Linked DNA regions of Homo sapiens: region 1 is linked to region 2. The links are contacts of gene promoters, found by promoter capture Hi-C in blood cells and fetal thymus (Javierre and others, 2016). All regions are on one chromosome and are shown on one strand. The core of a region is centred on a gene start or on the middle of the fragment in contact, and the rest is flanking DNA. Distances in the headings are between cores, read along the strand shown.

Evidence for each region. Contacts are between HindIII fragments. The CHiCAGO score rates a contact against its expected background, and 5 or more counts as called.
Region 1: a contact is called between a fragment that was not itself captured here and the fragment with the promoter of VIL1 in region 2, in 1 of 17 cell types (neutrophils). The highest score is 5.1, in neutrophils.

The regions. Positions count from the first base shown.
Region 1 is chr2:218,155,630-218,160,981 of GRCh38, reverse strand. No RefSeq gene overlaps it. Among named protein-coding and RNA genes, the nearest start is that of CXCR1, 8.7 kb to the left of the region's middle. The HindIII fragment of the contact is 2,056 bases long and covers 653-2,708 here.
Region 2 is chr2:218,417,231-218,421,842 of GRCh38, reverse strand. VIL1 (villin 1) reads right to left here and starts at 2,720. Exons shown (of 20, transcript NM_007127.3): 1 at 2,675-2,720. The HindIII fragment of the contact is 19,335 bases long and covers 1-4,612 here.

The DNA of each region.
Region 1 (5,352 bases), core at 431-2,930, 260 kb after region 2:
TGTTTTGTAGCCTTGGTGACAACGTTTGAGACTCTAAATCAAAATGTGAAAATCTACTGTTTTCCCCTAAACCAGTTCCACTTCTGACCAACCACAGCCTCTCACCACCCCTTGCCCTCCATCCCCTGGCCCATTCTTGTTAATTCCAGCAAAAATACTAATTGACAATCAACATTTTATGCCATAGAGGTAAAATTTGCCCCTTTCTCAGCAAAGTAGTATTTTAATAAGAGTCTTTCAGAGACTGAAAAATCTCATAGATGCAAATGAGTAACATGACAATCTCCTCTTTGGTCTAAGGATCGTCCCAAAGAGGTGCCTTCCTAGAGAAGACCACTCACCAAGAGACAGTGGTGGAGCCCTGTCTTTTGCCGTTTCCATGCAGAGGTCAGAGAGGCCACTCTAGGTTCCACCCAGAAAGCCACAAGGAGCTAACGGCGGAGCTCTCAGCACCAATGTTTTCTTGCAGCCTGGTATTCAGTTTTTAAATCCAAAGTCTTCCTTCCAACCTTCAGGGTAGAAATGAATCAAAGACATAATAAATAAAAAATAATCGAAATATGTTAACTCGACTTTTTAAGATTAAATTTTCTTTCTATTGTCTAAGTATTTTATACACATTGTTGAAAAAACGAAATGGCTTTATGAAGCTTATAACAAAAAACCAGCAGCCTTCCAGCTCCAATCCCTGCAGACAAGGGCAGCAGCTGTCAGCTCTCATAGCTGTTTCATCGGATAGTGATCTATATATTTCTAAATATCATACTTGTTCTGCTAGTTTTTTTCTTTTTTTTGGTCTCACTCAGTCTCCCAGGCTGGAGTGCAGTGGCATGATCTCAGCTCACTGCAACCTCCGCCTCCCTGGTTTAAGTCATTCTCCCACCTCAGCCTCCTGAGTAGCTGGGACTATAGGTGCCCGCCATTACGCCTGGCTAATTATTGCATTTTTTGGTAGAGACAGGGTTTCACCATGTTGGCCAGGCCAGTTCATCACTTGAACTCCTGACCTCAAGTGATCCCCCCACCTCAGCCTCCCAAAGTGCTGGGATTACAAGTGTGAGCCACTGTGACCAGCCCTCTGCTAGTTCTTGTTTTTCTCCCCCTCCAGGTTTAGCTATCATCACTGACTCTCTCTTTTGGCTTTGAGAATGTAATATTCTCCCAGTCCCTCTCCTGCTTTCACCCCAATCCAAGCAAACACAAATACTGCCTTCTCCATTCTCCAGAAACAGATGCCACATTTTTTGGTTAAGTCGACATTCAATTTTTTTGTTATTATGACTATGTAAAAAATTATTCACAGTAGGATCCAATTTTTTTTGTACAAGTTTTGTTTTCCCTGGAATTGATGAGAGGATGTTCCATGTACTTATCATGACATCAGTTCCAATGTCTCCCTCAATACATTCACACTCAGCGGATAATCTATTAATTTTTCTTTCTCAAAGACCTCTCTCCGGGAGTCCTTCATTGTCTTCTTCCAACCTGGACAGGTGACTCTTAGGAAAGGGGCCAGTTCCTCTTTACTAAATTGCTTTGACTATGTTTCCAGAGAAATTTTAGAATCTGCTTATCAATTTCTATATAATGTCCAGCTGGGATTTTGATTTGGATTATGTAGAATTCATAGATCAATTTAGAGAAAATTGACATTGTCATATTGAGTCTTCCAGTCCATGGGCACGATATCTTTCTCTATTTATGTCTTCTTTAATTTTTTTGCAAAGGATGTTTTATAGTTCTTGGTACACAAATCTTGTACATACTTTGCAAAATTTGTCCCTAAGTATTTTATGGGTTTTTTGGATGCGATTACAAATGATATCTTAAAAAGTTTTCATTTTCCAGTTCTTTTTTTGGTTACCATAGTATATAGAAATACAGTTGCAGTATGTATATTGACCTTGTAACTTGGGACCTAAGTAAATTCATTTATTGGTTCTAGTAGATTTTTTTAAAGATTGCTTTGGATTTTAACTGTATGCCATCATTTCAGAATTTAAATCTTCTTTTTAGTTTTAGAATGCATGATGTGTACCTTGGTGGTGTTTTTCTTCATTCATTGTGCTGGGCGCCTGGTAAATTTTCTTAATCTGGAAATTTAGGTTATGTAAATTTATCTGGTATTAGTTCTTTGACAGTGTTCCACCCTTCGTTTTCCTTATTCTTTAATTTTTTTAAAAGAATTATTCTATTTTATTTTATTTTTGAGACAGGATCTCACTGTATCACCTATGCTGGAATGCAGTGGCCCAATCTCAGCTCACTGCAGCCTTGACCTCCCAGGCTCAAGGAATCCTCCTACCTCAGCCTATTAAGTAGCTGGGACTACAGGTGTGTGCCACCATGCCTGCCTGGCTAGTTTTAAATTTTTAAATAGAGTCGGGGTCTCCCTATGTCACCCAGGCTGGTCTCCAACTCCTGGGCCCAAGTGATCCCCTCTCCTTGTCTTCCAAAGTGCTAGGATTACAGGTTGAGTCACTGCACCCTGCCTATTTAAAAAAAAAAAATTAAAAAATCCTCCTGCCTCAGCCTCCTGAGTAGCTGGGGCTACAGGCATGCAACACCACCTTTGGCTAATTAAAAAAAAATTTGTAGAGACAGAATCTTACTATGTTGCCCAGGCTCGTCTTGAACTCCTAGGCTCAAGCAGTCCTTCTTCCTTGGCCTCCCAAATTTCCGGAATTTCAGGCATGAGCCACCAAGCTTGACCTATTTAAAAAAAAAAATTTAGGGGCTGGGTGCGGTGGCTCACGCCTATAATTCCTGCCCTTTGGGAATCCAGGGCGGGAGGATCATTTGAGTCAAGGAGTTCAAGGCCAGCCCGGGCAACATGGTGAAACCCCATCTCCACAAAAAAATACACACATGCACAAAATTAGCTGGGCATGGTGGAATGCACCTACTCTGGGGGCTAAGGTGGGAGGATTGTTTGATCCTGGGAGGCAGAGGTTGCAGTGAGCCAAGATTGCACCACTGCCTTCCAGCCTGGGCAACAGAGTGAGACCTTGTCTCAAAAAAAAAATCCTCCTTCCTTAGCCCCCAGGTAGCTCGGACTACAGGCACGCAACACCATCTCTGGCTAATGTTTAAAATATTTTTTGGAGAGATGGAGTCTCACTATGTTTCCCAGGCTGGTCTTGATCCCCTGGCCTCAAGTGATTCTCCCACCTCTGCCTCTCGAAGTGTTGGGATTATAGGTGTGAGTCACTGTGCGTGGCAAAAAATATACTTATTTTAAAGTCAGATCCAAATTGCTTTATTATCTTTAGCTCCTCAGGTGTGAATTCTCCCATTTGCTGTTGACTGACTGTTGATTGTGATGATTGTCAGCTCTTTGTAACATTTTATTGTTAATTCATCTTTTGAAGGCATTTTTTTGTTTCATGGGAGTCTTGCATGTGCCCTGGATTATGAAGAAGTCTATTCAGGGGTGGCTTTATGGCTGTACCTGCTAGGGCCTTACTGGGTTACATAGCTCAGAGCATTTTTTGTTATTGATATTTCTTGGCCCTGAGTTTCCACACCATTGCAAATGACAGATTTGGGTCCTCATCACTTGATACTAGGGCTTGGGATTCTGGAATGTTCCTCAATTGGCCCCTTTTCTCTCATGACCTAGGAAGGCAGCTCACTTGGGGGTTGTGTCTCAGGCTGCAAAGTGCTTTTCTATCCCCATTCAAGGGCATGGCAGCTCTTTCTTGGTCCTGACAATTTTATAGGCAATCAAGTTGTAGTTTCTGCTATACATGGGGCCTTTAGGGTCACTGGTATTATCATTCCCATCCTTAAGGTACATGATCAATTCTAGTATCTTTCTGGGTTCCTCTGGCTTTAATCCTACTCCCTGATAAGTCCATACATTTTTAAGCTCCCTCTTCATTTCTGGCCCTTGGAGATTTTTTCTCTCTCTCTTGCCTGCTATTGACCTCAGATATTTATTTTTAAAAATTAATTAATTCATTCATTTATTTTTGAGACAGAGTCTCACTCTATTTCTCAGGCTGGAGTGCAGTGGCGTGATCTCAGCTTACTGCAACCTCTCCCTCCCGGGTTCAAGCAATTCTCCTGCCTCAGCCTCCTAAGTAGCTGGGATTACAGGCACCCACCACCATGCCAGCTAATTTTGGTATTTTTAGTAGAGACGGGGTTTTGTCATGTTGGCCAGGCTGGTCTCAAACTCCTGACCTCAGGTGATCCGCCCGCCTCGGCCTCCCAAAGTGTTGGGATTACAGGCATAAGCCACCACGCCCAGCCTTTTTAAAAATTAAAAAAAAAGTTATTTAGGATGCCTATGGAGGGCATGTTTGTGTTGCTGATTTGCTGCTATGCCTCTTCAGCCAGCCCATTATCATGACCAGAAATTCAGATAGCACATCAAACGAAAAACAAAGTTCCTTTTCTTGTTTTTTATTTCCCTTTCTTATGTTAAAACCTTCTTCCAGAAAATGTTATGTACCCCAGGAGGATACATTGACGGGATTTCTAGGTAACCCACAGTGTGTACGTGCATGTTGCTTATGCATGGGTGCATATGTATGTCTGTTTTGGGGATGAATGACCCAACGTTATTCCAGAACTATCACCCCCTTTTTTTTAGCCAGGCTTGCATCAGGGGGATGGAAGAAGTAAGATCTAGAAGGTAAATGGGGAGGGACCGCTGAAGAAATCTAGTCACTTCCGACATGGGAAGGAATTGTGTTGCCCAACTGAAACCTAAGAGGCCACATCCGTACCTCTCCCTTGGTTCCCATACTGTAAACAACATGGCTGTCTTCCTGAAAGAGGTGACTTTGCTCCAGCTTTAAAGGTATTGGGGGTGTGGGGAGACTAGGCAGGTACAGGTCTCAGGGCTGTGCAGTGCAGGGTTCCCCACTTGGCCAGCATACTTGAGCACTCCTCTGAGTGGGACCCTGGCAAGACTCAGCATGTACTGTCTTTGTGCACATTCCCACATGTTCCTAAGTGAGAATCCGCTAGTTGTCTGATTATGTAACAAATGCTTGTTTGCATCCAACTCCGTGCTAGGTCTTAAAACAAAGTAATGGGCCAGGCTCAGTGGCTCATGCCTGGAATCTCAGCACTTTGGGAGCTGAGGTGGGCGGATCATCTGAGATCAGGAGTTCGAGACCAGCCTGGCCAACATGGTGAAACCTGGTCTCTACTAAAAATACAAAAAAATTACCTGGGTGTGGCGGTGGGCACCTGTAATCCCAGCTACTTGGGAGGCTGAGACAGGAGAATTGCTTGAACCCAGGAGGCAGAGGTTGCAGTGAACCAAGATTGTGACACTGCACTTCAGCCTGGGTGACAGAGCAAGACTCTATTTCAAACAAACAAACAAACAAACAA
Region 2 (4,612 bases), core at 1,471-3,970:
GCTGATTCCAGGGTTAACTGGCAGCAAGAGGAATAGAGGGTGGACATGAGCAGGCACTTCTTGCTTATCAGAGAGGGGATTCAGGGGAGCAGAGACTTGAAAAAGCCAGCGCTCCCCCTCCCCAGAGAGAAATCAGGATTGGGGCCAGCCCCCACAGGCCAAAGGTGGGCAAGGGGACTCAGGAGTGGAAGCTCTGAGATGTGGCCCCCCTACCTGGTGTATACCCTCCAGATGCTCCTGCCCTCTACCCATGTTGGTCAGAGCAGATGCCTCTCCTCCACCCCTTGGTAGGGCCTCCTCCTCACTTCTCCTGTCTTCCCTGAACTTCCAGGAAGACCAGGGCCCGTCACTTCCCCCAGCCCTGCCACCGTGGACTCTGGTTTGGATTTGAGTTGTCTCCTCCTTCAGTTTTAATTCACTGGCTTCCTCCACTCCTGGTACTTTCTCTTCTGTGTCCCCAGACCAGGGAAGGGCATGGTCACCCCAAGACCCCAAAGTCAGCCATCTGTGCAGCATCCTGGACTCTTTCTGCTCCTGCCCTTCCATCCACCTAAACTCCCTTGAGTCTCCCCACTACACACAGCCCCCTGGCCCCTCTCTGCTGGCACTCTGCCCTCTAGAAATGCCACACTGCTGGCGGCCCCACCCCCATGCTGCCTCTCACCCCACGCCTGCTTGCACTGCTCCAATATGGAAAGCTCTCCCCACCTTTCTGACACTAACATGCTCTTCTAGACTCAATTTAGATCTCATTTCTTCCAGGAGACCTTCCTAGAATCCTCAGCTGGACAAGGGGCCCCTCTGCATCCTGGACTGTCCCTTCTCTTGGCCCCCTGACCACATGGTGATGAAATAACCTGTTTGTAAGTTGGAGGTCCCTGAGCTCCAAGACCTAGATATGTTTGTCTTTGCAGCCCCCAGCTCCTAGCACATAGTAGGTGCTCAACAAATACTCATGGGCTGGGCGTGGTGGCTCACGCGTGTAATCCCAGCACTTTGGGAGGCCGAGGCAGGCGGATCACGAGGTCAGGAGATCAAGACCATCCTGGCTAACACGGTGAAACCCTGTCTCTACTAAAAATACAAAAAATTAGCCGGGCGAGATGGTGGGCGCCTGTAGTCCCAGCTACGCGGGAGGCTGAGGCAGGAGAATGGCGTGAACCCAGGGGGTGGAGCCTGCAGTGAGCTGAGATCACGCCACTGCACTCCAGCCTGGATGAAAGAGTGAGACTCCTTCTCAAAAAAAAAACAAAAAAAAAAAAAACAAATACTCATGATGCTGAAAGGCTGAACTGTGGGATGGAAGGAGGACCCTCCCAGGGCACTGGAGGGGTTTGGGCTCCCACTGTCTGCAGGTCCATCTTGCCTTTCTTTCTTTTTTCTTTTTTTCTTTTCTTTTTTTTTTTTTTTTTTTGAGACAGAGTCTCACTCTGTCACCCAGGCTGGAGTGCAATGGTGCAATTCTGGCTCACTGTCATCTCCGCCTCCTGGGTTCAAGCGATTCTCGTGCCTCAGCCTCCCGAGTAGCTGGGACTATAGGCGTGCGCGAGCACACCCAGCTAATTATGTATTTTTAGTAGAAACGGGGTTTCACTATGTTGGTCAGGCTGGTCTTGAAGTCCTGACCTCAAGTGATCCACCCCACTTGGCCTCCCAAAGTGCTGGGATTCCAAGCATGAGGCTCTGCACCTGGCCCACCATGCCTTTCTTATCTGAGCCCTGTTGTACTTGAGTTGCGGCTCTGTTGTAAGTGGGGTGCTGCCACGGCTCCTAGTTCCCAGTCGTGCAGCTCTGAGCTGGACAGGAATGTGGTGGGGCAGTGGGGGTGAAGTCCCACCCCTCAGACAAAGGACATCCTCCTGCTTCCCAGGCTCATGATAGAAGAGGGAATGGACACCCGCCAAGACCCTCCAGCCCAAAGGCTCTGCCCCAGCAGATGATGTCCCGAGAAGACAGCAGCCAGTGTGTCCTCAGAGCCTGGTCTGCAGCTAGCTCCCATTCCTAGTTCTGCTGAATGGGCCCACAGTGGCTGGGGAGGCCAATGGGGCAGCTCCGGGTAGAGGGGAGATGGGGCAGAGGTGCATGCTAGGGTGGCCCGGCATGGCCCAGGACCTAAGGCCCTGCCACCTCCAGCCCCTTGCCTCTGCCCTTGCCTCTGTGTGTGCCCATTCAATTGCTGGTGGCTGTTGCTCATATGCTAGGAGCCAGGAGGCAGGACCCGGAGGTCCCAGGAGTGTCAGAGGAATGGTGACACAAAGAAAAAAACACTTCAGATGAAGAACGCACGGGCAAAGAGATGAGCTGGTGGGGAGGGGGCTCGGGGAGTGAGGTCAGGGAGACCAACTAGTCCCGGTCTGCCCAGCACTGTCCTGGTTTTAACTCTAGAAGTTCCAGGGCAATTGGGATGGTGACACCCAAAGTGGGATGGGGCTAGCCACAGGTAGGAGACTGAGAGAGCCATTGTCTGGGGCAGGGCCTGCAAAAGTCTCTCCCTGGAGGCCCAGGGCAGACACACTGGGCTCCCAGCACTTCTCACGCTATCCAGAGTGTCAAGCCTCCCCTTCGAGCCCGTACCAAGGTGCTCCAGGAGGCCCCAAGTTGCCCGAGAAAAGCAGAGGACCCCGTCCCCTCGCACCACCTAAGGTCTCCATGTGTTCCCACCAGGTTGCCTTACCTGTCTTGGGGAGGCAGCTGCCACCTGGGAGATCTCAGGGAATTGTGGCAAGCTGGCTGCAGAAGAGCGACCTTTGTCCCCACCCCCCCTCCTCTAGGAACTGCCTTCACCATATAAGGGAAGATAGGGCCCCAGAGAGGTGAGGGGGTGGGGAGGCAGGTGCTGCCAGGTCCCTGGGAGCCCAGAGCCCTCCACAGCCTGACAATGAGAGCTGATGTGCCCCACCCTTGGCTTTTTTTTTTTTTTGAGCCTCACTCTGTCATTCAGGCTGGAGTGCAGTGGTATGAATTCGACTCACTGCAACCTCCGCCTCCCAAGTTCAAGTGATTCTCCTGCCTCAGCTTCCCAAGTAACTGGGACTACAGACATGTGCCACCATGCCTGGCTAATTTTTGTATATTTAGCAGAGACAGGGTTTCACCATGTTGGCCAGGCTGGACTTGAACTCCTGACCTCAAATGATCCACCTGCCTCGACCTCCCAAAGTGCTGGGATTACAGGTGTGAGGCCCGGCGCCCAGCCCCTCCCTTGGCTTCTGAGTGAGCAAGGGATGGGGTGCTTTTCTGCCCAGGGCCCAGGCCCTCACCACAGGCAGACAGCACTGTCCAGGTAGGGTCAGCGGCGCCTGAACCTTTCCTCCTACCAACCAAGAGAAGGAGGCTCAGCTGTCCTCCCACCTGCCCTGGGGTGAATGGTTCATGGAGAAAGAGAGGCAGGACTCTAGGGTTGCAGAAGCCCCAAACCCAGGAATGCAGGGACTTATACTCAGGGCCCCTCCAGAACAGATGGGAGGTCTCTTAGAGGTCTCCTAGAGGTCTCTTCTCAGCATGACCCTCACTTAGCAAGGGCCCCAGTGAGCACAACTGCTCCTCCTCTCCACCCTTAGGGGCACTGGCTCCACCTGGAGTGTTTTTTTTGTTTTCGTTTTTTTTGCTGAGATGGAGTCTGTCTCTGTCGCCCAGGCTGGAGTGCAGTGGCGTGATCTCATCTCACTGCATCCTCCGCCTCCTGGGTTCAAGTGATTCTCCTGCCTCAGCCTCCCGAGTAGCTGGGATTACAGCCGCACACCACCACGCCCAGCTAATTTTTGTATTTTTAGTAGAGACGGGGTTTCACCATGTCGGCCAGGCTGGTCTTGAACTCTTGACCTCGTGATCCGCCCACCTCGGCCTCCCAAAGTGCTGGGATTACAGGCGTGAGCCACTGCACCCGGCCCACCTGGAGTTTTTATGAGATGCCATAAACCAGTGCCTTTGAACTCTGTTCTGCTACCCTCTCCCAGAAGCCAAGGTTTCCATGTCTGACCCCTGACCCTAGGGGATCCATCTCACTCAGGCAGGAAAGTTGTGCAGCCAACTCCAGCGTGGATCTCGCTGAGAAACCAGCTTCACACGCAAACTCAGCACCTTGGGCAGCTGCCTCCCAGACTGCAGAAATTCTCCTATCACCTGTGAAGCCTGGTCCTTAGGAGGGTGACGTGAAGTGGGCTGGGTGAGGGCAGTACGTCCTTCTCATCACAGCCTCCCAAGAGTTCTGGAGACCAAATGTACAGTAGTCCCCCCCTTATCCAACGGGGGATACATTCCAGGACCCGCAGTGGATGCCTTAAAACCTCGGATCGTACCGAACCTGGCTGCCATCAGCTGGAGCATGTTTCTGTTCGTGTCTTCCACCCACAAATTGAAGCCCCTTCTATTTTCATTAGCACTTATCCTGCACTGTGGCTGCATTTTGCAGTTTGAGGTACACCAGCAAAATTAACACAAATTTCTGTTTCCTTCTTCACAATTTCATGAACAGAAGATGCATTCTTATCATAGATCTTAGCAACCTCAGTATATGATGTTTTTTGTTCTTTCCTTATTGAGAACTATTACCTTTTCATTTAAAGGAAACATTTTATGGCTTCTTTTTGGCACTTCCAAATTGCCAGCATCG